Regions from separate parts of the Homo sapiens genome. Here regions 2, 3, 4 and 5 are each linked to region 1. Evidence: promoter capture Hi-C in 16 types of primary human blood cells and fetal thymus (Javierre and others, 2016). All regions are on one chromosome and are shown on one strand. The core of a region is centred on a gene start or on the middle of the fragment in contact, and the rest is flanking DNA. Distances in the headings are between cores, read along the strand shown. Region 1 holds the start of FH (fumarate hydratase). Region 2 overlaps SDCCAG8 (SHH signaling and ciliogenesis regulator SDCCAG8). Region 3 overlaps SDCCAG8 (SHH signaling and ciliogenesis regulator SDCCAG8). Region 4 overlaps SDCCAG8 (SHH signaling and ciliogenesis regulator SDCCAG8). Region 5 has its middle 270 kb from the start of PLD5.

What was found. The method cuts DNA at HindIII sites, captures the fragments that hold promoters and counts their contacts. A CHiCAGO score of 5 or more calls a contact.
Region 2: a contact is called between a fragment that was not itself captured here and the fragment with the promoter of FH in region 1, in 2 of 17 cell types (activated CD4 T cells and total CD4 T cells). The highest score is 6.9, in activated CD4 T cells.
Region 3: a fragment that was not itself captured here is called in contact with the fragment with the promoter of FH in region 1 in 5 of 17 cell types (total CD4 T cells, non-activated CD4 T cells, total CD8 T cells and 2 more); the score reaches 10.5 in total CD4 T cells.
Region 4: a fragment that was not itself captured here is called in contact with the fragment with the promoter of FH in region 1 in 6 of 17 cell types (total CD4 T cells, activated CD4 T cells, total CD8 T cells and 3 more); the score reaches 13.8 in total CD4 T cells.
Region 5: a fragment that was not itself captured here is called in contact with the fragment with the promoter of FH in region 1 in 1 of 17 cell types (total B cells); the score reaches 5.7 in total B cells.

The regions. Positions count from the first base shown.
Region 1 is chr1:241,517,904-241,524,167 of GRCh38, reverse strand. It overlaps FH (fumarate hydratase), which reads left to right and starts at 4,413. Exons shown (of 10, transcript NM_000143.4): 1 at 4,413-4,577. The coding sequence starts at 4,446. RefSeq lists silencers at 4,299-4,428, 4,251-4,533, 4,709-4,978 and an enhancer at 4,039-4,635. The HindIII fragment of the contact is 3,380 bases long and covers 2,018-5,397 here.
Region 2 is chr1:243,349,057-243,355,320 of GRCh38, reverse strand. All of the region lies in intron 12 of SDCCAG8 (SHH signaling and ciliogenesis regulator SDCCAG8), which reads right to left. Among named protein-coding and RNA genes, the nearest start is that of MIR4677, 6.0 kb to the right of the region's middle. The HindIII fragment of the contact is 687 bases long and covers 3,087-3,773 here.
Region 3 is chr1:243,330,327-243,336,590 of GRCh38, reverse strand. It overlaps SDCCAG8 (SHH signaling and ciliogenesis regulator SDCCAG8), which reads right to left. Exons shown (of 18, transcript NM_006642.5): 10 at 5,899-6,051. Among named protein-coding and RNA genes, the nearest start is that of MIR4677, 13 kb to the left of the region's middle. The HindIII fragment of the contact is 2,079 bases long and covers 2,652-4,730 here.
Region 4 is chr1:243,271,335-243,277,598 of GRCh38, reverse strand. It overlaps SDCCAG8 (SHH signaling and ciliogenesis regulator SDCCAG8), which reads right to left. Exons shown (of 18, transcript NM_006642.5): 4 at 2,943-3,056. Among named protein-coding and RNA genes, the nearest start is that of SDCCAG8, 18 kb to the right of the region's middle. The HindIII fragment of the contact is 1,396 bases long and covers 2,904-4,299 here.
Region 5 is chr1:242,786,725-242,792,988 of GRCh38, reverse strand. No RefSeq gene overlaps it. Among named protein-coding and RNA genes, the nearest start is that of PLD5, 270 kb to the right of the region's middle. RefSeq lists a silencer at 4,688-4,982. The HindIII fragment of the contact is 326 bases long and covers 3,655-3,980 here.

The DNA of each region.
Region 1 (6,264 bases), core at 3,164-5,663:
AATAGGAATAGAAATGAAATATTTAAATAAAATAAGAATGGATCTTATACTCCATAACATGTCATAAGGTCAGTGTATTTACTCAACACTCTGTACCTGAGGTCCCACTATATTTTTAAAAATGAATTAAAGAGGAAAGACTATTTAGGAGTGAGCCCTGAGGCCCTTCCCTATTTATAAGTGAAAATCTGTCAAAGAACAGTGTGAAGGAATAGGTAGTGAAACAAAGTGGAAGTTTGGGAGAGGGAAATACGGAGACTTTGATATTTCAAAGAGCGAGAAAGAGGTATTTCCAAGGAGAAGGGGTGTCAATTGTGTCAATGCTGCTGCAAACATAGGAAACTAATTGTTCATTGTATTTGCACCTTGCAGGTCACTGGTGACCCTGGAAAGGGCAGTATGAATGGAGTGACATGTACTGAAGGCAGATTGTAATAGGATGAAGAAAGAATGAGAAGTGAAGTGAAGATGGTGATCAAATATGTCCTGGAAATGAGGAGGGAGTTGAAGTGGGATGCAAAGTCAGAGCAGCTTTTGTTTGTTTTTAACATGAGAGCTGAGACAGCAAAGTTACAGTATTAACTTATTCTATGGGTCAATTAAGAGAAATAACCAGACAAAGTAAGAAAAAGAGTGGGTAGTGTCTCTGAGGGGTAATGGAATCCAGCACATTGAGGAATTGAAGTTTTTCTGGAGAATGGAGAGAGAGGTTGGTTAACTTTCTGAGTTGGTAATTTTAGTGTTTTGCAAAGTTTCTGTACGTGCACTTAGTCTTAGGAATAAAAAAGTTCTGCAAGACATCCAACCTAAACAGTCATCACCCTTGCTACCTCTCCGCCACTTATCCTTGCACAGAGGCATCCCTTCCAGTTCCTGGGTATATACTTCCACATCTCTAAAGATTACCTCTTGGTTTTTATTTCTGTCTGTCCAGTTTATGGTTTTAGGTATTAGATCATGACTTCTCACTACTGAAGACGAAGATTAATGTTTTTTTTTTCACCGTGTCTGAATCTCTCCAAACTTCTACATTCTTTCCATCTCCCCATCCTTTCAGTATAGTTACATCAACATTTCAGTTAGATCAATATTCAACGTTTGATTTATTATAACTATGGCCATTCAAATTTGATAATGATTATTTTCCCTTTTCTGCAAAATACAACTATCTTTATTTGTCAGTTTAATAACTGTCATGCTTTTTCCCTTTGGTTACTTTTCTAAGACTTATAAATGTAACCCTCAAACTCTCCCCCAATCAGCTAAATTCCTTCTCAGTATATTCAAGGCATTAGCAATTTTATCTTTTTGAGTAAATCTATTCCAGAGGCTGTGACCTGCTTCCATCTGAGATGGTTGCTCTCTAAGGTAAGTGCACAGCTGTCATAGCCTCCTCCAGGCAATATGCCACATCTGTCTCTTGTGTCGAAGACCCTATTTTCTAAGTCCATAATTTCCTCTTCCTTTGTTTACTCCTAGTTACGGTGGAGCACTTACTTGAGGCGTTTTCTTGAAAAGTGTAGATAAGAAGTAAATTTTTTGACATCTTGATCATGTGAAAACATTTTAATTCTCTTCACACACTTGATTTCTCTGGGTATAGAATATAAAGTTGGAAATAATTTTCCGTTAACAATTTGAAGACATCATTCAACTGCTGTCTGGCTTCCGATATTGTTGTTGTGAAGTCTAAGGATTTCTAATCCTTTGCTTATTTATTTTTCTCTCTGAAAGATTCCAGTCTCTTCTCTTTGCCCTTGGTATTCTAACATTTCTTGTTGACATAACTCATTCTGGCTAGTTCATATCTGCTAGTTCTACAATATATTTTTCTGAATTTATTTTTTTAAGGTTTATTCCATTTTTTCCTAATGTTTCCCCTACATTATTCACATGTTGGACATACTGAACTGTTTCTCTAATTTTATTTACTTCTTTTATTTTCCTTCTCTTTGAATATTTGCTCTACTTTCTGGGAGACTTTTATGGGTGTATCTTGCAAATTTTCTGTTAAGCTTCCTCTAGGAAACCCACTGGTAATCTCCCAGGCTGGGAGGTATCCTAAATTAGAATTTGCAAAAGTCTTTAGTTTGAATAAGGAGAACATTTTGATTGATACAATTTGAACCTCGCAATCAATTTTGTCAGCCAGGTGTTGAGATTTAGAACACAGGCAAGAGAAAACCATTGCACTTTTCCCTTGTCCCTCAGCAGGACACCAATCACATCCCCTACCTTAAACAGAAAGCAAAGTAAAACAAACAAGAACAAACCAGGCAAGCATCAACAAGAAGAAAGCAGGTCAATATTATTATCAGACAAGTCCAAAGTTAAAAAAAAAAAACCCAAACTCTAAGCAAAGTAAAAACATTATTTCAAATAGATAACATAAGTCATTCTAAAATGAAGATATCTAGCCTTTATTAAAGGCTTTATGTACGTTTTATTACGAATTAATAAAAATAAATTAGCTAAGTTAATATTTCCTAAATTTTAGTCATTTATATAGCATCTTCATATTATACTGAATATTTTACTTCAAATAAAATGAATAATTAAAAATGGAACTTCATATTACTACTGCAGATAGAAAATCAGTTTCACTAATAAATCGAAGTAAAACACACAAATAAATATGTGGATGTTCCTGGGCATCAATTTTTCTCTTCTATGTACAGGAATAATAATAGGACCTATCTCATAGGGTTGTTTTTGAGTGTTCCAAGAATTAATACATATAAAGTGCTTTGAAAAATTCTAGAACATAATATGTGTCATAGGTAATTTTTAAAAGGGATTAAAATAACCTATTTATAAAAAGGCTATTAATTTGGGTTTTGAAAAGTTAAACTGTATGGTAGAAATAAGAGACATGCTCGAAACAAAAATGAAACAAAAAATAAAATAAAATGAGAAATATACAGCAGGCAAATAATAGCCAATATGAAATTGGTAGAGAAATATCAATATTAAAAAAAGTTTAAAAGGACAAGCAACAATAACAATAAAGAGGGGCACCACACAATGAAGAAAGAGATGATCTATGAAGAAATGATAAACATATGTTCATTAAATAATTTTGTGTAATAGCAAAGAAAAATGTTCTTTATTAAGAAACTGGATAAATAAAATATTTCATATTCATGTGATCCAATATGATTAATTTTAAAAGATCATGGCTATATCTTAAAAGCATAGAGTTCAATTATGCAACAGTAAAACTTTAAAGTAAAATATTAAAACCATTGTTTGTATATTAGTGTATGAAGCAAAAAATACACAGAACTGAAAGGATGCATCAAAATAATGATATACACAATAATGATACCTGCTGGGAAGGAGGAGAACAAAAACAAAACGTCATTCCATTATTAGCAATGTTTTAAAGAATTTGCATTCAGTTTTCTAGTGTGTTTTGATTGTAGTTCAACTATTACAATCTCATTTGAATTTTTATATTTTAAATATGTGTCAAATTTATAAGTCACAAAATAACATAATGTTACCAAAAGGTTTGGCAAGTTTGTAAGTTTGACTCATAAATTTGGCTTTGCAGGTTCTGGACTTTTGATTTTAAGAACATCCGATCGCTCTCTCTTTACTGTCATCTGGTTCCAAGCAATAGAAAAGAGAAAAGATAAAACTGTGGTTCAGATGCAATTTTATATCAATTCCTGCTTTTCTGTAATCAACTATTATATTAAAACAATATGCCTTTAATTTGAAAATGTATAAATTAGCTATGCAAAAAACTGGGAGAACGATATACAAATAATAAAAATTCCGAGGTTCCCTATAATTGTGTACGTCTTCCACAATACATTAAAAAAAAAAAAAGAGTTCTGAGGGTATAGGCTAAGAAGAGAAAGGAAACGGTAGCGATCTCAAAATGATAAGTTAAAAGAAATAAGTAAGTAGCTTATTTTTCAGTTGTGGGATTATGAATAATTACTATTTCATTATCTACACTTTGCTGCACTTCCCAAAATTTCTACACAGAAGATACAATCTGGAAGAAATGAAGAAAGATTTCAGTAGTAAGAACGTGTAATGAGTGATTACATGATAAATAAAACAATAAATATTTCTTTCTAGGATATTTCACCAACCAAACACGACCTGATTCACCAACTAATACTCCCGCCTTCTAACAGCCACACGTAAAAATCAGACCGGCTCCAAGAATAACCTGAGCCTCCTTTCCCATAATTCCCTTCTTTCTAGTTTCCCATGAATCCGAAGGCCTTACACCCCACACTACTACTAGAAAGTTAACCCGCCCCCTCATTCTTTACTGGTCATTCACGATTGGTCCTGCCCCACCTGTCGGTGTGAGGCTGTTGATTGGATAAGAGCGGAGGCCGGTGGGCGGAACGGTTTCTGACAACCGGCGTGGAGGCGTGGCCACAGCCGCCCAGAAATTCTACCCAAGCTCCCTCAGCACCATGTACCGAGCACTTCGGCTCCTCGCGCGCTCGCGTCCCCTCGTGCGGGCTCCAGCCGCAGCCTTAGCTTCGGCTCCCGGCTTGGGTGGCGCGGCCGTGCCCTCGTTTTGGCCTCCGAACGCGGCTCGAATGGTGAGCGCAGGCCGCCATCCCCCGGCCTCCCCGCAGTGACCTTCAGCCCTCCTGCCTGCCGGCCTGGGCGCCCGCGACTTGGCGGGAGAGATTCCCCGGGCGTCCGGGCCGCGCCAGACTCTGGGCTTAGCGCCCGTGCCGGCGTGGCGGGCCTCCCGGCCTCGGGACGCCTCTTCCGGCGCAGGGATGGAGCCGCAGCCCGGGAGAGCGCTTGGGGAGGGACGGGGGCTGTCAGAGAGGGTCCTACTGGGCCCGCTCCCGGCGCCTCCTCGGAGCCGTCCGTGGCGGGCCGAGGCCGGGGCGTTTTGAGGTAACTTCGCTGCTGCTGGCGCGCAGGCCCCCAGCCCCGGGGCGCTGCCCTCAAGGACAGTGCCGGCGTGGGCGGAGGGTGCTGGGAGAGGGGCAGCTCCCGCACCGTCCTGCCCCATAGCTGGGCCTTGCTGGCCGGACACTGGCCGCCTGTGCATCTAGTGGTTTCTGAACTGTGGTTTGTTTCGCCAAGGGGCACTGCACTGCTTTCAGGCCCTCCAGGTGGGGTAGAAGGTTCTTCGAAGATTTTACTTCCTTTGAAATTGCATGCTCAGTTTGTTAGGCTGACTATGGTTTCCCCCGTAATTGTTGTAAAACTCTTCAATTCCGAATACCGCGGGCATAGTGTTCTGAAGCATGTTTGAGCAGATTGGCTAGGAGCTGAATCGGTACTTTTTATTCAGAAAGCCAGCTAAGAACTTAAAGATCCAAGTTCAGGTTATGACATGCTTACGTAAGTCATTTTGCTCTTTAGAGTGTCATCTTTAGGAATGCAGGCTTTTAAAAAGCTTTAAATACATATGTATATTGTTAGGAAACGTTTGAGAAATGATAGTTGAAGAGTTACAGTTCTGCACTGGTGTAGCATGAGGTTTGCAATCTAAGAGATGTGATTTCAAATCCGTATGCAAAGTTGAAATACTTACAGCTACTCAGCAAAACTGCACATGTGAAAATACCATGTAGCGAGTGCTCATTAAATAAGTGCCCCATCTAGGGTATTTCAAAGGGCCAGTACTTTTTCTGGACTCTAAACTTCAAGATAATTTGATTGGGTCACTATACCTACGATATACAACTATACTACAGAATCAGAGATGTTTTGTATTCCTCGAACTCCCTGCTCGAATAATTTTAGGGCATTTTAAAACCTTTACATATTTTTAAATTTATTTATTGTTTATTTAGTGTTTTGTAAAGGGAAGCAGACTGGAGAACTTCTGAATCTATCCTGTTGATGCAAATGTCAAAAAATAGCAGCACTACTTTGCTCTTAGAATTGTAATGTTAGCTAAAATCAGATGGAGGTAGTTTTTGTTTTTTCTAGTTCTGGTACTTTTTGCCCTCTAACCATTCTCAGGTCCAAAATCTCTGTTGGTTTTGTTAAAAGTTCTTCCTGTTGCTAATGTTGAGAATTTCACATAACCCTTGATGCCCTAAGGTACCTTTTATTTAAAAGAACACATACAAATTCATTCAATAGAAAGATACTGTTTATTGAGTGCCTTCCACTTACCAGGCCCTGTAAATAAGACAGTCCCTATGGGGATAGGGTTTTACAGGCAGTGTTTTATTCTTGTCTTTAGTGGAGATTAAATAAGCAAAGCAGTTAAATAAGCAAATAAATCACACATGAATAATTAGTGTGATCATTGAT
Region 2 (6,264 bases), core at 2,181-4,680, 1.8 Mb before region 1:
GAGAGAAGGTATCAGGACTTCAGTTGTAAGTAGAGAGATTTTATACAAAGAAGAATTTTCCATTCCTATAGGAAACTCCAGAAATTTTCAGGGATGGCAGAAGGCAGGCCAGAAATAAAGACCCTGCAGCTTTCTTGTCTTTTTCCTAAATGTAAGTGTAACAAATCCACTTAAGTACAGATGTTAACACCAAAAAGAGTTAAATTAACTTGACCATCTGTTAAGAAGAGTAATATGAAAACTCTAAACACCTTGCAACTCATTAACACTCAGGAGCAGCCTAGAGTTAGATCAGGAATCTCTGTGTAGGGTGATCTGTCTCACACTGTGTGTCTAACACTCATGAACAGCCTAGAGTTAGATCAGGAATCTCTTTGTAGCGTGGTCTGTCTCATACTGAACTCCAGTGAGGGTCAGAAAAACATGCCAGGGATCTGTAAAACCTCTAAGACAATTGCAAAATTGTTTTTGGTTTCATTTTGATTGATTTTAAAAAGAACTCCCAGAGCAAAATCTTAAGATGATCATATTCTAGGTCATCTGTGTCCAGAACTACCACAGCTTTTCATTCCATGCTTGCATTTATGAGGGCAACAAGTGAAAACAGAAAGTGAAAGCATTAACTATTAATGGTGCGTTTCTCTAGTGGGAATCCACCAATGTATTCCTGATCATCATAAGTTCACACACCTAAGAAACTCTGGCCGAAGAGATTTACTTTCACAGGTCTTGCAAAAGCTGGTTACTCTCGCACAATACTACCTTTGACAGTTTGCCAGTGCCTCAAATCTTTCCAGTAGAAATTTTAATTCAGAGTGGGGCTTTAATCCTTGTTGCAAATTAGATGATGTCTGTCTTGTAAGTAAACTTAACTCTTTACAAGGCTAGACATTTTATTGTTCTATTACCAATCATAACGAAAATGTCTAAAATTGCAGATGACAGTCAAAATTCATTTTTATAATCTTAACAAAAGTGTCATGTTTATAAAGTGAAAGTGAATAACTGGAAAATACAGAATAAAACTTGAGGCTCCATGCAATTTCTGTTGATTTTATGAATATTTAATTCACAATTAAGAGGGGCAAAGAAATACTTCCTGTGTTTCTAGAAATGCAAGAATTTACAGCTGGAGAAAACTTTTGCTACCACTTGTCCAAGCTTCTCACTTCACTGGGAAATAAACTGAGGCTCTGAGAGGTTTGCTCAGGAAATTAGCTGGAAAAGCTAAATCAGAAAGTCATGACTTTGTACTCATGGTCCTTAAGTAAAGTAGTACCCTGTATGATCTGTGTTTCACCTTTCATCAACAGTCATGTGCTAATCCTCCACAAATCAAGATAATTGTCAATTCTTTATTTCTAGGAAAACAATCCTATATGACTCTAACACTGTAAATAAAATGACATTTTATTTATGTTATCTGAAATTTGAAAAATCTTAAAATTTTTCCATTACATAAAACCTACTACAAAGCAAATGAAATACATATGCATACATTCCCAAACGATACCATGACTTCTGTGCCTGACTGCAGGGCATACAGTATATTACAAGGAGACAATTATATTGGGATTCTGAGTGTTACTAAAACCCATTTTCTATGAGCAATCTATTACAACAGAGAAGTGGCACTTGAAATAATGGAGGTCAGTTATACAAAAATGCTATGGAACCAAAAGACACATATGTTCTTGGATGCACCCTCCTTTTTCACCCCCATTCCTTTGCTCAAGCTGCCATGTTGAACCTTCTAACCAAATAAATTTCTTCTTCTATCCGTGCTGGGCAACATTCTTTTTTTTTTTTTTTTTTTTTTTTTTTTTTTTTGAGATGGAATCTTGCTCTGCTGCCCAGGCTGGAGTGCAGTGGCACAATCCCAGCTCACTGCAACCTCCGCTTCCTGGGTTCAAGCAATTCTCCTGCCTCAGTCTCCCGAGTAGCTGGGATTACAGGCGCGCGCCACCACACCCGGCTAATTTTTGAATTTTTAGTAGATGCACGGTTTTACCACGTTGGCCAGGCTGGCCTCGAACTCCTGACCTCAAGTGATCTGCTTGCCTCAGCCTCTTAAAGTGCTGGGATTACAGGCATGAGCCACCACGGCTGGCCCTAGGCAACATTCTAACCACCCTGCAAGGATGTTATCTTTCCCCTCCCAAATTCCCATGCCTTTTGCATTTTGCTGATAGCTACTATGTTCTCTTTGACATATATTTATTGGCATACCTGGTTTACATACTCCTTTCTGACAGAAATTGATTATAGCTAAGTAGAGTGCACATAATATATGGTTATTGAATTAAAGCAACATATGAAGTTTAGGGCAAAAGGGCTCTAAATCTGTCATAGTGGCTGTTCTCAAAATCTAACTTACTATCATTTTCCCTTACAGGTATATGTAAATGGCCACAGTAAAGTGATCACTATGAAGAATAAGGAGCAACACAGAAAAAATGCTTAAGATAATGTTAAATGAAAAAAGCAAAAACCAAAACTAGAATCTATTTATATTTGCAAATATTATAGATGCATATGTACAAAAAGTGGAAGGTAAAACAGAAAAATAAAAACAATTTACACTGTTTGGGTGATGGAACTACTGGCTTCTGTTAATGTGCTTATGTTTATACAATAAATTTTTTTAAATGTATGCATATGTAGTAATTAGTGATATTTATATTGGATATAGGTACTAATATTTCTGGACTATAAACAAAAAGAAAGCATATGTAGTTGTCTTATGTCTAATGTCTCTCAGCTTGTTGGGCTGCATGGACACATTTAAAGAACTGTCACTACCTGGTAGCTACCAGAACTGCAGAGTTGGTACCTGAGAAGGCACTTTGCAAGTTGGCAGTTGGCTGGTAAGTCAACTTTTACAGTCAAAACAAGCATGCAAAAAAATGTTCAAAGAACCAAAACACATGTCATCCACTGAAACTGAAAATATAGCAAACATTATATTTCTTCAGGGCACACAGGAATATTCTTAGAGTCCAGTTTACAGTTTTCTATTCCCATCCAAAGGCAAATATTTATTTCTTAATGTTTCTCCTATAAGGCATATTATTTCTAAGAAAGCTTGTTTTATTTCCTATTTGTACTCTTATCTTCTAAATATACCTAAATTGCTATTTTCAGATGTGTTGTCTCTGCTTATACATTTGATTTTGTAAAATAAATTATTATGTTAAACAGCATTATCATCTTTGTTGGAAAATCAAATAACAAGCAGAAATTAATAGATTCTTTTTTTGAGCATGTTAATTGAAAAGTCAGTGTTTCTATGAATGAGGTATACATACCCTGCCTCAGAAAACAACTGCCTAAATCATTAACAACGTGACTAAATGCTAAATGCCCCAATGATCTCCAACTCGGTATTATTCACTGGATTGATTTGGAACTGCTTCTTTATGCAGAAAAATTGAATTATATTTTTTTACTGCTAATTTTGTGATTTTACCAACATGATGATTTTAGATGAAGAAAGTAATTTGGCACAGCATTTTAGAAAAATAAGTTCAATCAATAACTTAGACTTTTATTAAATGAACATATTTTAAATTATTTGTATAATCCAATAAATCCTACTTGTCCCATTCAAGCATCATCCAGGACAAGAACAAAAGAGGCTGATTTATTAGACATATGTTAGGCTGAAGAATTTTCTCAGAATTCTTGGTTAGGCTGCGATAAGAACACAAATTTCTCTAAGTATGCTGAACAATGCTTTAGGGCATACTTAGAGAAGATGCTATAAAAAAGCTTTATTGCATCACACACATGGAACCAGATTCTCCCTCTCATGGGCTGTAGCCAGCATGAAGTTCACACTACATTAATTTGCACTTGTCGATATGCTGCTTTGCAAGTATTCTTAAGGCATGTTCTAATGTGTACTCTGACTCCTCAACTAGAATATAAACTCCCTAAGGGTAGGACCTGGGTCTCCTAGTTATTACCCCCACAGTGTCTAGCATACTGGTCTGGGTAAGCCAAGCCCTCTGGAACTGCTGTTGTCTTCGTAGGGAGCAGGGACAAGAATGTGCTAAGTCTACAGACTGAAAGAGGGTGTGAAGAATACTGGAGAGCAACTCTGTCATCACCAGGACCGAGTGATTACATGTACCAAAGGCAGGCCCAAATGGCCCCTCTCCCAGTCATTTTGTAGAGGGAGAAGTGAGACTGCAGGTGGTAGTTGGATAAGTTTCTGAAGTCTGGCTCTTGAGAAGTCATCCATTATCTTAGCATATTCCCCAAAAACCTTCTGAAAAAGAGTACACAGCTTTAAAGACACAAAGCAGAGAATAGAACGGAACAGGATTTTACTTTAATCTGTAAGTGCTAGGTTTCAAGTAGAAAAGACTAACACTGCTGTTACCCACTTTTAAAAGATACAACGATGTCTTTCTAGGACGCTTCCAGAATCAAATAGAAGACTGGACCTCAGAGGTCCATGAGCTGGGTCTTCAGGTAAATCATATTGCTGCTACTATTTAAAACTAAAACTTCCAGGGAAAAGGTTCCATGGCCTGTTGCAGCAATTTCAATCTCCTTACTGTCAGAAAATTCTTGTTTCAGGCTATTGTGATTTGTAGTTGCTGTAGTTAAATCCCTTTGTTCTTGTTCTGTCCATATTGAAGACTCAAATCAGGTGTTTAACTTTTTCCTTGAAATAATTTGTCAAATCCTTGAAGATGTGAAGCAATGTTGAAGTCTTCTCTAAGTAAAAGGTACAATTCTTCAACTTTTCTTTATTGCTTTTATATTTCTCTAACTTTAAAAAGGACTGACATAGGCCGGGCGCAGTGGCTCACGTCTGTAATCCCAGCACTTTGGGAGGCCGAGGCAGGTGGATTGCCTGAGCTCAGGAGTTCAAGACCAGCCTGGGCAACACGGTAAAACCCTGTCCCTACTAAAAAACAACAACAACAACAAAATAGCTGGGGGTGGTGGCGTGCTCCCATAGTCCCAGCTACTTGGGAGGCTGAGGCAGGAGAATTGCTAGAACCTGGGAGGCAGAGGTTGCAGTGAACCGAGATTGCACCACTGCACTCCAGCCTGGGCGACAGTATGAGACTCCGTCTCAAAAAAAAAAAGAAAGAAAAAAGGACTGACTTTTAGGGCTTGCAGGCAGGCCTTCTTCTCCTTACACAAAGCCATACAATATAGATGCACTTCTTCCAACAGTCTAGTTAATTCAACTGAATTTAGGCGATAATTCCTGTGTCCTTACACTCCATCCTTAATGTCAGTGTCCAAGTGCTGAATCACTGCTGTAGATATGAGCAACCCTCAAATCCTTTTTTGCCCTCATTTTTCCAGCCAAAATTTTTGGATCTATTTCTTTTGCAGAGATACCCCACCCTGAATATTTGCTTTGATTGCTCCATTAAAGTCATTTCAAACTTGATGTTTTCTACTCAGTAGTAGCCACAACTCCAAAATTATAATTTATACAATGCCGGTAAAAAAAAAAAAAGAAAGACGCTTTCTATATCAGCCTTCTTATCTCTGAAAAATAAAATTGGAACCAACCTAAAAACAAAATTGTAAATATAAAATCATACGGTATTTACACTCCCATCCAAGCCACTAGTAAGTCATGTGCCACTAATAAGAAAATGCCATGATTATCAGTGATACACTCGCTGAGTAATGCCATTAGATTTTTAAGAGACTAAAGATGTGGCACATTTGTTATACTGCAAAATACTCTAAAACCATTGTTATTATTTAAGATACATGGGTCTTCAAACTCAAAGCTCAGCATCCTAGTAAGTCAGAGGAAACTTAAAAAATACAGTTGTATTTCTATACTCAAGGTAGGGATTGGCAACTTTTTCTGTAAAGGGTCAGACAGTAAATATTTTAGGCTTTGTGGGCTATATGGTCTCTACCACAACTCCTCAACTCTGCTGTTGTTGCAGGAAGTAGCAATAGGTGATACATATATGAGTAGGTATGGCTGAGTTCTAATAAAACTTTATTTGTAACATAGACAGCAGGCCAGACTTGACCTATGAGCTGTAGTTGGCTAACACTTTTTTATGAATACTGGGCACATTAGCATATTGAATATGCATATGTGTCTGTATATGTGAGTGGGGATATATACACATATATTAGTATGCAAAATCTCCATTTGCCCATCCCCCTGGTTATGGCAGTTTCTTGGGCACGTGATCAGTGCAGTCACACATGTGCTGTTCAGAAGGGTCCTTACACTTGCAGTTTAATACTCTGTGGTCAATGTCT
Region 3 (6,264 bases), core at 2,442-4,941, 1.8 Mb before region 1:
AAAGTGTGTAGCGCTTCCCCCTGCTCTCTCTTCCTCCTGCTCCAACCACAGAAGACATGCCTGCTTCCCTTCCACCATGACTGAAAGTTTCCTGAGGCCTCCCCAGCCATTCTTCCCGTTCAGCCTGCAGAACCATGAGCCAATTAAAGCTCTTTTCTTTATAAATCACCCAGTTTCAGGTATTTCTTTATAGCAGTGCGAGAACAGACTAAAACACTAATCATCATAGAAATGCAAATCAAAACCACAATGAGATCCCATTTCACACCAGTCAGAATGGCTGTTATTCAAAACTCAAAAAACAACAGACCATGCAGAGAAAAGGACACTTCTGCTCTGTTGGTGGAATGTACATTAGTTCAGCCACAGTGGAAAGCAGTTTGGAAATTTCTCAAATAACTTAGAACCTACCATTCTACCAGAAATCCCATTACTGGATATATATTCAACAGAAAACAAATTGTCTTACCAAAAAGACACATGTACTTACATGTTCATTGTAGCACCATTCACAATAGCAAAGACATGGAATCAACCTAGGTGCCCATCAAGAATGGACTGGATAAAGAAAATGTGGTACATATACACCACTGAATACTATGCAGCCATAAAAAAGAATGGAATCAGGTCTTTGGCAGGAACATGGACGCAAGTGGAGGCCGTAGTCCTAAGTGAATTAACGCAGGAACAGAAAATCCAATACTGCATGTTCTCACTCACAAGTGGGAGCTAAGTATTAGGTACTCACGGATATAAAGATAGCAACAACAGAAACTGGGGATGACTAGAGAGGAGAGGGAGGGAGTGGGGTAGGGGTTGAAAAACTAACTATTGGGTACTATGCTTATGTAGGGGGTGACAAGATAATTTGTAAACCAAACCTCAGCATCATGCGATATACACAAGTAAAAAACCTGCACATGTACTCCCTTGAATCTAAAAGTTAAAAATAAATAAATAAATAAATGATACATAAAAAATGTGCTGCATTTCTGTCACCACCTTTATTCATGAAACAACTGTCAGTAAAAGAGAGGTTCTGTTACATATGAAGGCACCTGGAATACTGCCAGGCACACTTCAGCCTTCGTTTTTCCTTTCTTATCAGGAATTCTCATCAACATACTTCTACACAGTAGAACTACTCAGCAAGGCAAATGGTTTCCAGCAAACAACCAAAAAATACAAATTTCCTAGGCGTGAACAATAGCTGGTGTTTGCTATTGATACCATTCTCTCTCACACAACACTCAATTCGCAACTTCATCTCCCTTCCATGTCTTATTCATATTGGTTACAGGTGGCGTTCCTTCCCCCATACTCTGCGTTTCTAAACCCCATCTATTCTTGGAAGCTCAACGAAAATGCCATTTTTTCCCCAAAGCCTTCCATGATCTCTTGCAGACAATCAGTTCTGATCCTCTGAACTCTCAGCATTTTAGCCATAACTTCCCAATGGCATAGGGACTTTTTTCTTTTCCTTGTAATTCATTCCTTCATTCATCTAATATATACTGAGCACATTTTACATGAGAGGAATGTGCCAGGCATTGAGGATGTTACATGCAAGGGACTCACTGAACTAGGGGAGGCAAGCTATTCGACATGAATTTGTAATGAAGTGAGCTATGGGAGCCCACAGGAGACGGTCCCAATTCAGCTATGGGAGGCGCGGAGACGAGGTGGTACCAAGAAAAGTTCTGGGCCACGCGCAGTGGCTCACGCCTGTAATCCTAGCACGTTGAGTGGCCAAGGAGGGTACATTGCTTGACCCCAGGAGTTCGCGATCAGCCTGGGCAACATGGCAAAAACCTGTCTCTATAAAAAACACAATTAGCCAGGCATGGTGGCACACCTCTCTAGTCCCAGCTACCTGGGAAGCTGAGGTGGGAGGATTACCTGAGCTCAAGTGGTCGAGGCTAAGTGAGCTGTGAACACCCCACTGAGCTCCAGCCTGGGTGACAGAGTGAGACCCTGTCTCAAATACAAACAAACAAACAAACAAACAACTCTGAAGAATCAGTTAAAGAGGGCAGAGGAAGACTCCTCTAGGCAGAGGGCAAAGCACATGCAATATCCTGCACTGGAAAAAACAGTATGGAAGAGAGGCATATGTACATGCTTGGGGAAGCACAAGTAGGTCAGTGTGGTGAGGGTGCAAAGAAGAAAAATGAAGGAACATAAGACCGGAGAGCCAAAGAGAGGAACAATATTGTAGAGTCTTCATGCTATGATAAAGGATCCTAAATTTTATTCAAGGTTGCAGGGAGACGTGAAAGGAGTTTTAAAGCAAGAGACTGACATATTGAGAAAGATCATCCCAGCTGCAGTTTGGAGAACAGATAGGAAGGAGGTGAGACTGGAGGCAAGGACACCACAGGGGCTATAGGAACCATCCAAGGATGAGATATGGTAGCAGTAGGATAGAGAGACAAGGCAATGTAAATGCTCAGGGGCTTAAGTCTTAGAGCCTGGTGATGATGAGATGTGTGGGGTGAGAAAGACGGGGGAGAAAAGGGTGACAAGATTTCTGTGCTGGATAACTGGATAAATAGTGGATCCACTGGGATAGGAGGTGGAAAGTAAAGCTGGTTTGGGAGCTCAGTATACAGTTAAGGATCTAGAAATCAAATAGCTTTAGTCTTGAAGCTTTAGGTCCTAAGGCTATATATACATGGAATTCAAGCTATAGTACTGCTAAAGACACCTAAATCTTTAGCTCCCTGCTAAACTCCAGAACCTCCTATCAAGCTGCTTTCTGGATGTGTCTCCTTTATTGTCTCAAAGGCACTTTAAACTCAGAGTAATGTAAAAAGCACACATCATCATTCTCCCAAATCAAGAATATGAATTCAAAGAAATCATAGAGAATCTTTTAAGGAGAATAAGACTGAAAAAAAATCAGTAAATATAGTGTAAACAGATCTTCAGTGAACATAGCAATGGTAATTTCACTGGCTGTGGCATGGAAGTTGAAATGCAGTGGGCTGAAGAGTAAGTGAGAGGTGACAAAATAAAGACAACATGTATGGACAAATCTTTCAAGAAACTCGACTATTAAGAGAAAGAGTCAAAGAGGGAGATGGAATTACTGACGTGGTTTCCAACCTTGGCTGCACATTGGAATCACCTAGGTGAGTTTCAAACACACTGACACCTGGATGCTTCTCTCAGACATTTTGATGTAATGGGTGTGGGGTACTGTTTGGACAATCAGATTTTTAGAACTTCTTGCGTGCCAAAAATTAAGAACCACAGATTAGAAGAAAGATTGTTCCTTTCAACAGTAAGAGACATCTGAAAATATTTTCCTGAGGATAAGAAAGAGACTGTAGTGAAGGAAAGATTGATTCAGAAAAGTGGAACAAACAAATGGAATGAGTTCCTTGAGGGGGTGAAAGGAGACGAGGTCCATGGGAAGGGGAAGGGATTAGGAAGACACCTTTCCCATTCAGACTGGGTTGGAATACAGGTGAAAATTTATTTTAAGGCATGGACAAGAGAAATAGTTGAGGTGGTCATCACCCAACGGCTTCCATTTTCTTTGTTAGTTAAGTAAGGCTCTCTGCTGAGAATAAGAGGAAAAATGGTATTATAGAGAATTTGAGAAGAACAAGTGATTTGAAACAGTCTTTAAAGAAATGCATTTAAGATACCATCACTTCCCACCTGGACTACGATAATCACCTCCAGACCTGGACTACGATAATCACCTCCAGACCTGGACTACGATAACCACCTCCAGACCGGGACCACGATAATCACCTCCAGACCTGGACTACGATAACCACCTCCAGACCGGGACCACGATAATCACCTCCAGACCCGGACCACAATAATCACCTCCAGACCTGGACCGCGAAAATCACCTCCAGACCTGGACCGCGAAAATCACCTCCAGACCTGGACTGCGATAATCACCTCCAGACCGGGACCGCGATAATCACCTCCAGACCGGGTCTGTGATAATCACCTCCAGACTGAGACCGCAATAATCACCTGCAGACCTGGACAGCAATAATCACCTCCAGACCGGGACCGTGATAATCACCTCCAGACCTGGACTGCGAAAATCACCTCCAGAGCTGGATTATGATAATCACCTCCAGAGGGGGATTATGATAATCACCTCCAGACCTGGACTGTGAGTCACCTCCAGACCTGGACTACGATAATGACCTCCAGCTGATCTCCAGGCATCTATTCTGCTTCTCCTTCCAATCCACTGACAAAATGATTTTTCTCAAATATAAATGGCATCGTGACACTGACAAATTCAAAGCCATTCAATGGCTTTCCATCCCTTTTTGGACAAAATTGAAAATCCTTCATATGGATTTTAAAGCCATTCATGATTCCATCCCAACATAATTCTCCAAACTCATTCCCACTACTCTGCTCCTCTCTCTCTATGCTCCACCCATCAGGGCCTTCTCCAAATTCCTAGAAAGTGCGATGCTTTCCAGGTCCAGAGTCTTGGGTGTGTTATATTCCTGGGCCTGAAACCCTCTTCCCCTCTTCACCTGTCCATTCATCAATGCTTTCAGGTCTCATTTTCAACATCTCTTACTCAGGAAAGTCTTTCGTGACTGCCTAGACAAGGTCAGATTCCTGTTACACATTCCCACGATATCCTAAACCGAACCTTATGGCTTTATCACAATGATGATCGAAAACTCACTTATGAAAACATTTGTGTAACATCTACTTCTCCTACGAGTTTGTAAGCTTCATGAGGAAACTGCATCGTTCCTGTGACTACAACATTCCCAGCCCCTCTGGTTAATATCTGTTGAGTGTGGAATGAATAAGAGAGAGGAAGGCAAAAGAGGACTGCTAGAAAGCACTGAAAGGACCGTGGACACCGAAGACCTGGAGTCTACAGCCATGTCATCTGCAAGGCTGTGTGATTTTTACCAGCAGAGATCACCAATCCAGGGCAGAGAAGGTAGGTAGTAGGGTTTTGACAGACACAATTTTTAAAAATGGATAAGAAGACAAGGACATTTACAGGAAATGCCTGAGTTTACTCTTATTAAGACTTAAAACTCATAGGGCAGAAGTTGTGATTTTTCTCTTTACATATCTTTAGGCCTCCACATTGCTTTGCACACAGCACATACTCAGTATATACTTACTGAATAAGTTAATTATCACACATTGAATCTGATAACAACATAGCATTTAGAGTACAAGCTGTGAGTCCACTTTTAAAAACAAACATGTAACACAGTTGTTTTGGTTACTTGATGGACCACAACTTGCTCAATTCGAGTCTAGTTAGCAATTTTAAAGCTAGGTCCCACTCAACTCTGTATTCTAGTTTGTGAACTCCTTTTCAAACACTGCTTGTTTCATGTTATCTGTTCCTTTTGCCTTAAATCTCTCCCTTCATCTGGTTACCGTCATTATTCATCATGTAATTTGTCAGAACTGATTTCATACAGAGTGCATAATCACTTTTTCTTGGTTACTCAGTTCCTTACAAGTGTTTCATCTTCTGCATATTTAATTTAGGGGTAGGAGATAATGCAGGGGAAGTCATCTCTCCTTGATTTAGCCAAGGTTGAAATAAAATCTGGGTATCTTCATAGCACGACTCTGGGAAACACGAGAGAGGGAATCCAACAGAATGGCAGGATTTAAAGTAAATTTTGTAATTTCATTGTATGGAATCTAACTGATTATTTTATTTGAAAAGATCAGCATAAACTATTGAGAAATATATGAAAAGATAAAACATTTTTATGAATTCTAAATTATACGAAATTTAACTACTTATATAATAACGATTTTAAAATTTAAAGTTCATTCAAGAACTCCAGCCTATGGAATCATCAATGGCATCATAAAAAACCTTTCTTCTGCAATGTGGATAACAGCAGAGTCCTTAAGTACCTTTGATCCCATGTACTCCCTTTCTTTCGTTATTTCCTTTTTCATCATGTCTTTCTCAATGGCCCTTTTCTCTTGCTGAGATGCAAGTTCTTTTTCAAGTCGCTCCGCCTGCCTCTCCAGCTCCTTCCTCAACTGGTCACACTGGATTAAAGCCTGCCAGGATAGAACAGATTGAAAGAGGAGGTTAGAATTTGGAAAAAATATAGGTAAAATGACATAATTAAGCTTTAAGTATATTTAAAATAGCAAAAACTCACTATAAAGCCCATTAGAATAATTTTTTATTGTTTATCAATACCACTTATTGACCTAAAAGAGTATCCAAATGTTACATTTATTGACATATTTCAATTTTCATGATTAAAG
Region 4 (6,264 bases), core at 2,352-4,851, 1.8 Mb before region 1:
CCAAGTCAAAGACTGGGAGAAAATACTTGAAAAAGACATATCTGATAAAGGACTGGCATCCAAAATACAGAAAGAATTGTTGAAACTCAACACTAAGAAAACGAATAACCTGATTTTAAAAATGGGTGAACGACCTGAACAGACACCTCACTCAAAGATGTTACATAGGTGGAATATAGGCATAGGAAAAGATGCTCAGCATCATTTGTGATCAGGGAATTGAAATTAAAACAGCAATGAGGTTCCACTACACATCTATTAGAACAGCTAAAATCTAAAACACTGACAACACCAAATGCTAATGAGGATATGGAGTATTAGGAACTCTCATTTACTGCATAATGCATAACGGTACAACCACTTTAGAAAAGTTAGGCAATTTCTTGCAAAGTTAAAATTAGTCTTACCATATGATGCAGAAATTGAGCTTCTTGGTATTTACTTTAAAGAGGTAAAAACAGATGTCCACACAAAAACTGACACACAAATGCTTACAGTAGCTTTATTCGCAATTGCCAAAACTTGGAAGCAACAAAGATGCCCTCCCATAGGTGCACAGATAAAAAAGCTATGGTATATTCATCTAATTGAATACTACTTAATAATAAAAAGAAATGAGCTATCAAGTTATGAAAAGACAAGGAGGAAACTTGAATTCATATTACTAAGTATAATAGGCCAGTCAGAAAAGGCTATATACAGAATAATTCCAAGTATATGACATTCTGCAAGTCAAAACTATGGAGAGAGTAAAAAGATCAATGGTTGCCAGGGGATGGGAGGGAAGGGGCGGAGGGGAAGAGGGATGAATAAGTGAAGCGCAAGAGGATGTTTCAGACAGTGAAACTATTCTATATGATACTGTAATGGTGGATATATGTCATTATACACTTGTCAAATTCGTAGAATGTATAACACAAAGCTAATGCAAACTGAGAGACTTAGATAATAATAATTTAACAATAGTGGTTCATCAGTTGTAACAAATGTGCCACACTGATGCAAGATGTTAATAACAAGGGAAACTATTAGGTGAGGGATGTCACTGAAAGGAGGATACAGGACTCTATGTGTTTGCCATTCAACCTTTCTATAAACCTAAAACTGATCTAAAAAATAAAGTCCATTAACTAAATAAACAAAATCTTTCTAAACCACTTAAACATTATTTTAATTCTATTCTTCTCTTACTAAAATGTATCAAATTTACACTCTGTCTGACAGTCAAGGCTTCCGTAATCTTCCATTTTACCAGTTCAGGATTACTTTCATTATTTCTATGAGACATTCTCCACTGCAGGAAGATAAAGTAGATGGCTTATGGCCCCCACAAACCATATTCATCCTGAATACTGTGTTTCACTGTTGCCATTCTCTTTATGAAACTCATCTCCCTTCTGCTGATCTAAATGATCCTATTCCTTTAAGACTGGTTTAGGCCGGGCATCGTGGCTCATACCGGTAATTCCAGCACTTTGGGAGACCAAGGCGGACGGATCACGAGGTCAAGAGATCGAGACCATGCTGGCCAACATGGTGAAACCCCGTCTCTACAAAAAATACAAAAATTAGCTGGGCGTGGTGGCGCAGGCCTGTAATCCCAGCTACTGGGGAGGCTGAGGCAGGAGAATAGCTTGAACCAGGGAGTCGGAGGTTGCAGTGAGCGGAGACTGTGACACCGCACTCCAGTCTGGCGACAATGCGAGACTCCATCAAAAAAAAAAAAAAAAAAAAAAAAAAAACATTGGTTCAAGATCTCTCTCTCCCATAGAAACATTCCCAAAGACAGTAGCTTTTCCTAACCTTCTTCTCTTATTATAATTATAGCTTATACCAAAAAGTAAAGGCCTATACTATGTTCTCTAATGTGCTCCTTATGGTGTTAATAGGGAATAGTTCTGTCTTCTCAACTAGATAGTAAATTTATTCTGCTTTATATCTTTCAAGTTTTATCCACAACATCTTAGGGATTAATAGAGTATTGTTAATGAAATAGTTCCTAGGATATTATTTCAGCTTTACTGGTAATCCAGGACCACGTGTATATTAATAACTGTGTCCTCCAAGAACAAACAGGAAATTACATGTTAAGATCAGAAACTCCCCGGTAAAATCAGGACAGTGAAACATCTAAAGCCTCCTTAAGTTACATACTGGCCTTGCATCTTAAAATGTCAACAATATAATACATAATATCATATACTATATATAAAAACATGATACAAGAGATATCAGTGATTCCTATAAAAATATCATACAATCGAATACACTGATACTAGAAAGAAAGAAAGAGGGAGGGAAAGAAAGAAAGAGAGAAAGAAACAGAAAAAAAAAAGTAAAACACGACATACTTCGGGAAGATGAAAAGGCTCTATTAGCATTAATGACATTAGCAAACTGCACGCAGTTGAGCATATAACCTTCTAGTGTCATAAGCTATATATGATGTGTTTGGTTTCTTGATCATTACTGTCAGTACCCTATGAACCATTCTCATTCAAAGTCAAAGTAAGAGCCTTAATACTGACAGCGGAGAAGAATTGGTCTACCAGTTTAGAATCCCTGATTGCTGTACCACTGCTCCAGTAGGTTGACAAGTATGGGAGAATGATTGGTATTTGTATTCCAAAGCATTTGCCATTTGCTGGGCTACAGCAAGCGGGGTGAGAAGGAAAACTTCTGAAATATGAAAGCATATTATGAAATCATTAGACATAGTAATGAACTACTGGGAAATCAAGCAATCAGAAATGGTATGGTCAAGAGCATCATTCCCAAGTCTGACAAGCTCTTGTGACACATCAGTCTCTCAATCACGTAAGAATAGCAATTGTCAATGTATTGCTACAAACATGAAGATTTATAGCAGCAAATTTTAATACAATCTATAGTTAATATAAGCTTTCATTTATTTAGTTTTAAATTCTTAATGAGAAACTTACCTTGCAGAACTTAACTTCTGCCTCTAAATGATGAATATATTGAGACTGGTCATTAATAGTATGAACAAGGTCGTGCATAGTAGGCATATTGGTTTCCTCATGTTCTAATGACCTCTATGACAAAAAATAAATAAATAAATACATAAATACATAAATTTTAAAAAGCCAAATTAAGCATGTTTGGATTTAGCAAAGAATCAGTTGTTACCTTCTCCATACTCAATTTTGCACTGATGTGATATAAACATAGAATCGATCACAATGTAGCTTATAGTCTTGATATAGTTTGGATGCTTGTCCCCCACAAACCTCAAGTTGAAATGTGGCCCCCAGCATTGGAGGTGGGGCCTGGTGGGAGGTGTTTCGGTCATGATGAATGAATCTTGGTGCTATCCTCATGATAATGAGTTCTTGCTCTGAGTTTTGGTGAGATTTGGTTGTTTAAAAGAATGTGACACCTCTCCCACTTCTTGCTCTGGCTCTCACCACATGAAATGCCTGCTCCCCTTTCACCTTCCACCATGACTGAAAGTTTCCTGAGGCCCTCACCAGAGTGAGATGCCAGTATCACACTTCCTATACAGCCTGCAGAACCATGAGCTGATTAAACCTCTTTTTTAAATAAATTACCCAGCCTCAGGTATTTATTTTTAGCAACACGAGAATGGACTAATACAAATACTTGCTTCTCTATCCTATAAATTCCACAAATACACAAGATTCATGGATGTGAATATCATTTTTTTTAAAGATGGATGGTGAAAGTGGTTATAAAAAGCACATATAGTGAATGGAAAAATGCTGGGGTAGCAGTAGTATAACTGGCTTGGAATAAACTATTTTAACAAATTGGAAAAACAACATTCCATTCAGTAATGCTGAGATACAAGGGACAACTCTCTCCAAGAAACTGCCATGGAAGAGGATTTGCTAGCTAAAACTGCAGCAGCTCCGTGAAGGAGAGATTCTTTAGGAAGCGTTTGATGCCAAGCCAGTGTCAATGCGATGAAATTCCATCTCAAAAAAGATACATTAGCAAAATGTAGTTTTTGATTTTTGGCTCTAGTATTGAAGGCAATTCAAGTGTATGGTGTTCTGGAGCATAGAACCTCCAAGAGTAGAACCCTAAAGTAGAGACACACTGCATTGAGGGGTCCAACGAAGAGATTTCAAAAAAACGCTAATGCTATTTTAGCTCTGTAGCATTCCTGGAACTGACTGTTAATGTATAGCTTACCTTATCCTAAAATAGTTTGTAAAATCATATACCCATCACATAATTTTTTTTTTAAAGGATGAGGAAATCAGGAAAAGGTAAAACAAGGGTCAACCAGTTAAACAAAGCCAGAGGAAAGCTTGAAATGAGGCACAGTGTCTGTTTCTCAGCCACTCTCTTTCTCAGCACAGCAGACATTTTAAATGATAATCAAGTACCAGCTATCATGGCAGAATAAAATAAAATAGAGCTTTGGTTTTTTGGTATATTTAAGAAATTTAAAAACCAAAGTAACTCTAATTAAATGAATTATCTGTCCTGAGTAGAAATCAAACAATTATAATCATCCTCCATTAATAGCAATAGGTTCAGAAGATAGGCAAATATAAATTACTACTATGAGTATACAGGAGGAAGTCAATGTGAAAAATAAAAAGCTCAAGCCAATATTGTATGAAAAATGTTCACATGAAATCATTTGTGTCTACTTTGAAGGGCTTTAGTTTAGATATCTACATTTTAAGACAATAAGTAATAACTTTTTTTCCATCTCAACAGTGCCTCAGTTTTACTCTCAATATATGCATGTATTTCTAATATGTTATACTGGCTATGAAAGTGCATTCTAAAGGTATAATCTTAAAAAGCTAATTATTACTATTATGGTTTATAATTATTACATGTAGGCTGTATACATATAGAGTCTAAGTTCCATTCTTTTACATAGCTCCATATAAATAGACTTGTGTATTTTAAAGTGCACTCTGTATGTACTAAACTGATTCTCTTAGTGAAGGTCTTCCTGCCTGTCTGGATTCAGTAAGCTCCATAATATCACTGCTCAGACTTTAAAAGGCAAATAAGCATGTCTGAGCATTCAACAGATAAAGCAACTTCATCTAGTAGATTTAAAAGCATTCCACCAGTCTGTGCTTAAGAGCAAGCTAGAAACCAGATGTCAATAGTAATAAATTCATTAAATGATGAGATGTTTTACTAAAATTATAAAATCTGTATCTATAAATTTAGAATATGCATATGAAGTACATTTCTCTAAAGTAGGAATTAAGCTTAAAAGTATGTGTCAGCCTGGAATGGAGTGTTCGTATGGGAGTGATACTCTGATATTTCAGTGGTGAAGAAAAGAAAGTGACATGTCTCCACACTTTTCAGCATACAGGCATTGTATTGAACTAGAAAACACATTGAAAATGTGAGGTGGTTACTTGCTGCTATGCATGTTATGTTTATGTAACACTTCATAGGTTTCTAAAGAATTTTAAGTATGTAATCTTATCTCATTATTCCAAAAACTCTGTGAGACAGGCACAATATCTTAGAGAGTATGTGATAGACCCTAGATAGAACTAAGCCCTTGACTATTATTTTGTCCACTTAAATCTGGTCCAGAGTGCTTTCACTCACATCTATCTCAGCCTTTAGCATATAAAATGCTTTAATCAGAAATAATACACTCTGTCAAAGCAATAACAAACAACTTCAGAAGAAATACAGCACCACTTCTTATATATCATACTATTTTATAACCATATATTTTAACATATAGAACATTACATATTAAAACGTATTATTTTGAGGCCAGGCGCGGTGGCTCACACCTATAATCCCGGTGCTTTGGGAGGCCGAGGCTGATGGATTTCCTGAGGTTCAGAGTTCGAGACCAGCCTAGCCAATATGGTGAAACCCCATCTCTACTAAAAATACAAAAAATTAGCCTGGTGTGGTAGTGCACATCTGTAAACCCAAATACTAGGGAGGCTGAGGCAGGAGAATCGCTTGAACCAGGGAGGCAGAGGTTGTAGTGAGGCGAGATCATGCCACTGCACTCTAGCCTGAGCAACAGAATGAGACTCTGTCTCAAAAAAATTAATTAATTAATTAAAAATAAAATGTATTATTTTGACACTCAAAATTTAAAAAATATTACAAAGTAGGGCTACAATTATAATTAAGTAACTTCTAAAAATGATCAATAATAGATATGACCCTCTAAAAAAGAAATTACTAAAATAATGACTTTATCTTTTACATATATTCTGACATATAATTTATTATATTAATTTATTATATATTATATATTTATAT
Region 5 (6,264 bases), core at 2,568-5,067, 1.3 Mb before region 1:
TGGAAAATTATACCTTGCTTCTTAAATTTTAGTATCCAGAAATAAAATGTATCACTTCTGTTCACATTACATTGGCTTAAAGCAAGTTTCATAGTCACATCTAGTTTCATGGGAGCAGGGAGTTCTATTCTTATTGTTTGACTGGATGGAAGACAACTGGTAATATTGGTGGGGATCTCTAATATCTACCGTAGCCCGCCATCTAGACACCAAATATTTGGCTCAATCTCCTTCACTCATACAGAATACATAAATATCCTTCCTAAGGGAATCAACACAAAAGTCTTGTCCAGTCATGGCACAGAGCTCAAAATTCATGATTTCTGGGTGACAGGCAACAGTGCCTATATGAGGGGTTATATTAGGGAGCGGAAGGTGGAAGGTGTTATCAGTTGAATTGTGTCCAGTAAAAAGATATGTTGAAATCCTAATCCCTGGTGCCTGTGAATGTGACCTTGTTTGGAAATAAGGTCTGTGCAGATGTAATCAAGTTGTGATGAGGCCATACTGAATTCGGGTGGTCTTAATCCAATGACTGGTGTCCTTATAAGAAGAGTAGAAGAGATAGATGCAAAGGAAGAATGTCATGTGACAATAAAAGCAGAGATTAAAGTGCTGGGGCTGCAAGCCAAGGAATGCTGAGGCTCACTGGAAAACCATCAGAGCCAGGGAGGGAGAAAGGAGGATTATCCCTCTAAGCTTCAGAGAGCATGTGGCCCTGCTGACCCTTGATTTCAGCTGTCTGGTGTCCAGAACAGTGAGACAATACATATCTGTTGTTTTGAGCCACTCAGTTTGTGGTGCTTTGTCACAGCAGCCCTAAGAAACTAACACAAGTGGGTAATAAACATTTGTTTCTACGTCAGGTCAGATGTAATTCCTCTTGAACTAGAAACGTATGAGCTGAAAAGATAGGCTCTCACTCCCTCCCCTACCACCAACACACATTTACCCACTGTGCAGTGCTGGAGCAGAGATGTGACAGGGCAAGTGTGCTCTGCACGGGGAAGGAAGAACTGAGTATGTAGTGACCCGTGGGGTGGAATGTGGTAGACATGACCGCTTCACTGCTATCCAGCTTCCCTTTCCTTTCAGTGCATTAGGATTGTTTTTCATGTCTCTTTGAAGTGAGTCATAGTCATGGAACTGGTTCTAGCAAATGGGTTTGGGTGGAAATCATTGGTCCACGACTTTCCAGCCATCATGAAAACACTTTTTAAGATAAAGCCTTCATCAGACTGAGTCCCAGAGTGACTCTGATAAACAGAGCTCCCTTATCCACCCGCATGAGGCATGCAAAATGAATGGGAAATCTTTGTTGCTTTAAGCCACTGAGGTTTGGGGTTGTTAGTCACCACGGCAAAACCTAGCTGATGCAGACAGATGAAATGAGCATGTAACTCAATGGTCTACTCTTGTAATTACAGTTGATCCTTGAACAACGTGGGCTAGAACTGTGTAGGTCCACTAGCACGTAGATTTTGTTCTGCCTCTGCCATCCCTGAGACAGCAAGACCAACCCCATCTCTTTCTCTTCAGTCTACTCAATGTGAAGATAATGAAGATGAAGACCTTTATGATGATCCACTTCCTCTTAATAACCAGTAAATATATATTCACTTCCCTCCGATTTTCTTAATAACATATTCCTTTCTTCAGCTTACTTTTTGTTAGAGTACAGTATATAATACACATAACATATAAAATGTGTATTACTTGACTATGTTACGAGTCAGGCTTCTAGTCAACAGTAGGCGATCAGTAACTAAGCTTTTGGGGAGTCAAAAGTTATACATGGATTTTCACCTGCACAGGGAGCTGGTGTCTCTAACCTCTTGTTCAAGGGTCAACTGTATTGCATTTTATTATAATAAAATAAATTAGTATCTGAATCTGATTTCTATTATCTAAATCATAATATTACACCATTTATTCTTCAGAATGAACTTCTTTGGTCCAGGAATGTAATGACTTCCCATCTAACTTTCTGTTCACTTCACTGGGCTTTATTGTTACCATTATCACTTGCACCCATTCATATATTTATTGAATGCTTGCTATATGTCAGGCACTGTTTTAGACATTGGCATTTAAAGATTAAGAAGACATAGTCTCTGACCTTAAGTAATTCACTGTTTAAAGAGGTAGACAAACATGCAAGCACTTTGCATCATTGCAGAATGAGAAGTTCTACATAAATCTTTTTACTGTCTATCCTCCTGGGTCAATGGGTCAGGCCTGCTGTGAGCTGCCTTTGGGAGCACATTCCTAGTGTGAGAAGTCATTGTTGGGTGCAAATGGCCAGGGTCTTGGATGGATAACAAGGGAGGTCATAACACATGATTATTTATAGAGACCCAGTGTTAAGAAAAAAGATTGCCATGAGAATCAAGAAACCAAACATTCTGAGTCTTGAACAGGCAAAATCACCCTAGGAGGCAGAGCCAGGTCTGAGCTAATGCAGTGGGCAGGGCAAGTTAGGCGTGGCCCAGCAAGTCATGCTGGAGAGAGGGACTGGGGACCAGCAGAGATTATTGAAGGAACCAAGGTGGGCTTGACACTTTCCCAAAGTGTTACAAAAGCTAAGAGGAAGTGAATGGCTGTTTAAGGATGACTAGGGATTTCCCAGTAATCAAACAAACAGGATGTATTTCCAGATAGATAAGTGATATGGTTTGGCTGTGTCCCCACCCAAATCTCATCTTGAATTATAATTCCCGTAATCCCCACATGTCATGGGAGGGACCCAGTGGGAGGTAATTGAATCATGGCGGTTTCTCTCATGCTGTTGTCATGATAGTGAGTGAATTCTCATGAGATCTGATGGTTTTATAAGCATCTGGCATTTCCCCTGCTTGTACTCATTCTTTTCTGCTGCCCTGTGAAGAAGTGCCTTCTGTCGTGATTGTAAGTTTCCTGAGGCCTTCCCAGCCATGTGGAATGTGAGTCAGTGAAACCTCTTTTCTTTATAAATTACCCAGCCTCAGGTATTTCTTCATAGGAGTGTGAGAACGGACTAATTCAACAAGGAATGTCAAAAACCATGGTGGGCAGGGGAAAGGAACATGAAATACTCCCTAAGACTAAAGTAGAGTTTGTGGAGATGGCATGGGGGAGCTGGAGATCCAGACAATTGCAAAGAACATTGTAAAAGAGGGCAAAGAGCTTGGACTTGATTTTAGAGACAATAGGAAGCCGAATGAAGTTTTTAAGCAGTTGTGATCTGAGTTGTTCTTTTAGCTGGAGTAATTTCGCAGCCTCATGGAGAAGCAGCTGGTATGAGGGGGTCTGTGGCAGGACAGCTGGGCAGAGGGACCCCGCAGTATCCAGAAGGAGACAGTGAGGGGCTGGAGCAGGCAGTGGTGCCAGCACTGGGGAGGAAAGACCAGAAAATAAATACATTGAAGATTTGATGCCTAACTTAATGTGGGGATAAGGAAGACATTGGTAAATTATGCAGATCACCACTTCAAAAAATGATGATAAAAACCAGGACTGGAAGTCAAATATCTCAGTTCCAATTCTAGTGCAGCAACGAACTGGCTGTTTGACATTAAGAAAATCACTTTACCTCTCTGAGTTTATTTATCAAAGGAAGGAGTTAGCTGGAAAAATCAAAATGTTCCTTCCAGATTGAAAATCCTATTTTAAGCTTTTTTCCCTTCACTATACTTAGTTCTAAAATCAGTGAGATGTGAAACCCCTGCTGTTTTTCTCTAAAGTAAACATAGATGTATATATATATGTATCTCACATTGTCTTAAAGACCCTGAGGGTCTAACATTTATTGAAAATGTTATGAGACAAATGATGAAGCCGATGACTTGCCCATGGAATTTGACCTTGATAAAACAGCACATCATAAACAGACTTAGGGAGAGGAGATGAGGGGAGTTCAGAGATAAGCCAGGAAATATGAACTGGGCAAGACCGTTAAAAATTGAAACAGTGTTTCTCGGTTGCTGTATTTGTGGAAAGCTTGTGGGTTACAGAAATATTGAACTTCAATGCTTGAACCAAACAGGTAATGAAACTAATTGGTTTTTAAGGTGTTTGGTCATGCATATCTTCCTCATCATTTTAGAAGGTTCTAGTTCCTTCTAGTGGATAGTTTATAAAATCTTTAAATACAGGCTTCATGATCTGAGGTGAGTTCCACAGTACAGTACAGTAAAAGTGGCCACAAGCCACACATTTAATGGGACTGATTAGAAATTAAAAAATGTAGCCATTTCTCTTCATCACATTGCCAGCTGATCTCCTGATGAATGTTTTATGTTAATGTGTGGATGTTCTTTTTGGTCTACCTCATTTAGCGAAGCAGCTTGAAAATTTTTCATCCCACATTTCAAATATTTTGTTCCAAGGATACTGAATAATGAAATGTGCTCCTCAGCATCTTAAATAATAAATCCGTTTATTCATGAGGCAATCAATTTTGTAAACTTCATGTAATTTAGGTTTTTCCGATGTAATGTGAGATTTTCCAAGAAAGAGGAAGGATATACAGTAAATAGAATCTTGCCTTTTCCTTTTTATTTTCCTAAGGGTACTATTAAGCCTAAATATGTCTGTCACACAGGCTCTTAAAATAACAAAATAACACTGAAAAATTGAATGTTTCACCCATAGGCCTTTAGGCTTCAGGCTTTAATATCCTTATAATCAACAATGGCCTATGTCAGTGATGGAAGACAAATAGGTAATGACTTTTGGAGAAATAGTGTTTTACCTTCAGTGTGCAAGAACACATTCTAAAGCTTCCAGTGCTATGACTCAGCCTTCAGGGATGTTAAGGAGAAAGAGGCAAAAATTTGGAGCACGTCTCCTGTGGCTCTGAGGAAAGGCAGAGAGAGAAAGCCTGTAATTACCACCTAAAAGTCCCTGGGGCTCTGTCATGGGCATAATTTTGATTTGAGCTGGAGTTTGTTTAGGGATAGGTAAGAGGAGCTATGTTATGCAGTTGGGGATGGGATACTGGTAGCGGGCAAAAGTGAGGAAGTGAGGAGATTATTTACATCCATTCATTCATTCAATAAATCTTTGTTGAACCTAGTATTTTCTAGGCATTGCTGGGGATAGAGCACTAAACGATATAGACAAAAACCCTTGCCTTCAAGGAGCTTATAGTGTAGTGCGGGAAGCTAGGCAATAAACAAAGAAACAAGCAAAAGTTACAGTATGTCAGAATGTGATAAGTGTTTATGGAGAAGAATAAAGCTGGAGAATGGGATAGAGTGTGCTGGTGGGCATAAGAGTACTATTTTAAACAGAGCAGTGGAGGAGGTCTCCCTGATAAGATGATATTTAAGAAGAGAAGGAGGTGAGAGAGAGAGCCATTGAGGAAGAGGGCATGTGCAAGGAAAAAGGCCTCCCAAGTAAGACGAAAAACAGCATGAGCAAAGAAAGGCCTGGAGACAGCAGTGCACTGGCTTGTTCAAGGAGCCAGATGGTTAGAGGGAGCGACCCTAAGGAAACAGCAGGAGAGTTGTGTGTGGGATGTGGGGACTGTCCAGGGTGTGACGTAGGGCCTTGTAGATTCCTACTCTGCCTGAGATAGAAGCCGCTGCAGAGTGCTGAGTTGAAGGGTTAAGGTGCTCTGACACGGAGTTCCAGATAATCACTCTGGTTGCTGTGCGGAGAGTAAACTATAGGTGAATGCGGGGGCAAGGGAAAGGGTGAAGCAGGCGTGCACATCAGTGGAACTTTCAATAATCCAGATGAGAGATGATGGTGGCTTGAACCTGGGCGAAAGCAGTGGCAATGAGGCGTGGTTGGATCCTGAGTATATTTTGAAGTGAGAACCCACAGGACTTACTGATATGGATATGTTTTACAAGATAGAGGAGTCATAAGTGAAAAAATTAATTCTGTCTGAGCAGCTAGAAGGATGATGTTGCAAGATTGAGGAGACTGGGGGAAGTGTGAAGGAAAAGGTTAGGAATTTCTGGACATGTTGAATACAAAATGACTTCAAAGCATGGAGGAAAAACGAACAAAACCTGAGCCCCCTCAATTTTAATGTGTATTGTTTAGGAATACAGATAGGTGGGATAAAAACTTTATAAAATGGAAAGGAATGATAAACACAAAATATAAGATAGTGGCTTTATCATTCGGAGAAGAAAAGGCAGAGTGATGGGGTAGAGAAGGAACATACAGGTTAATGCAATGAAATTGGTGATGTTCCAGTTTTTAAGTGGAGTAGAAGCTTCATTGGTGTTCATTTTATTATTATGCTTCATAATTTACAGATATCCTCTT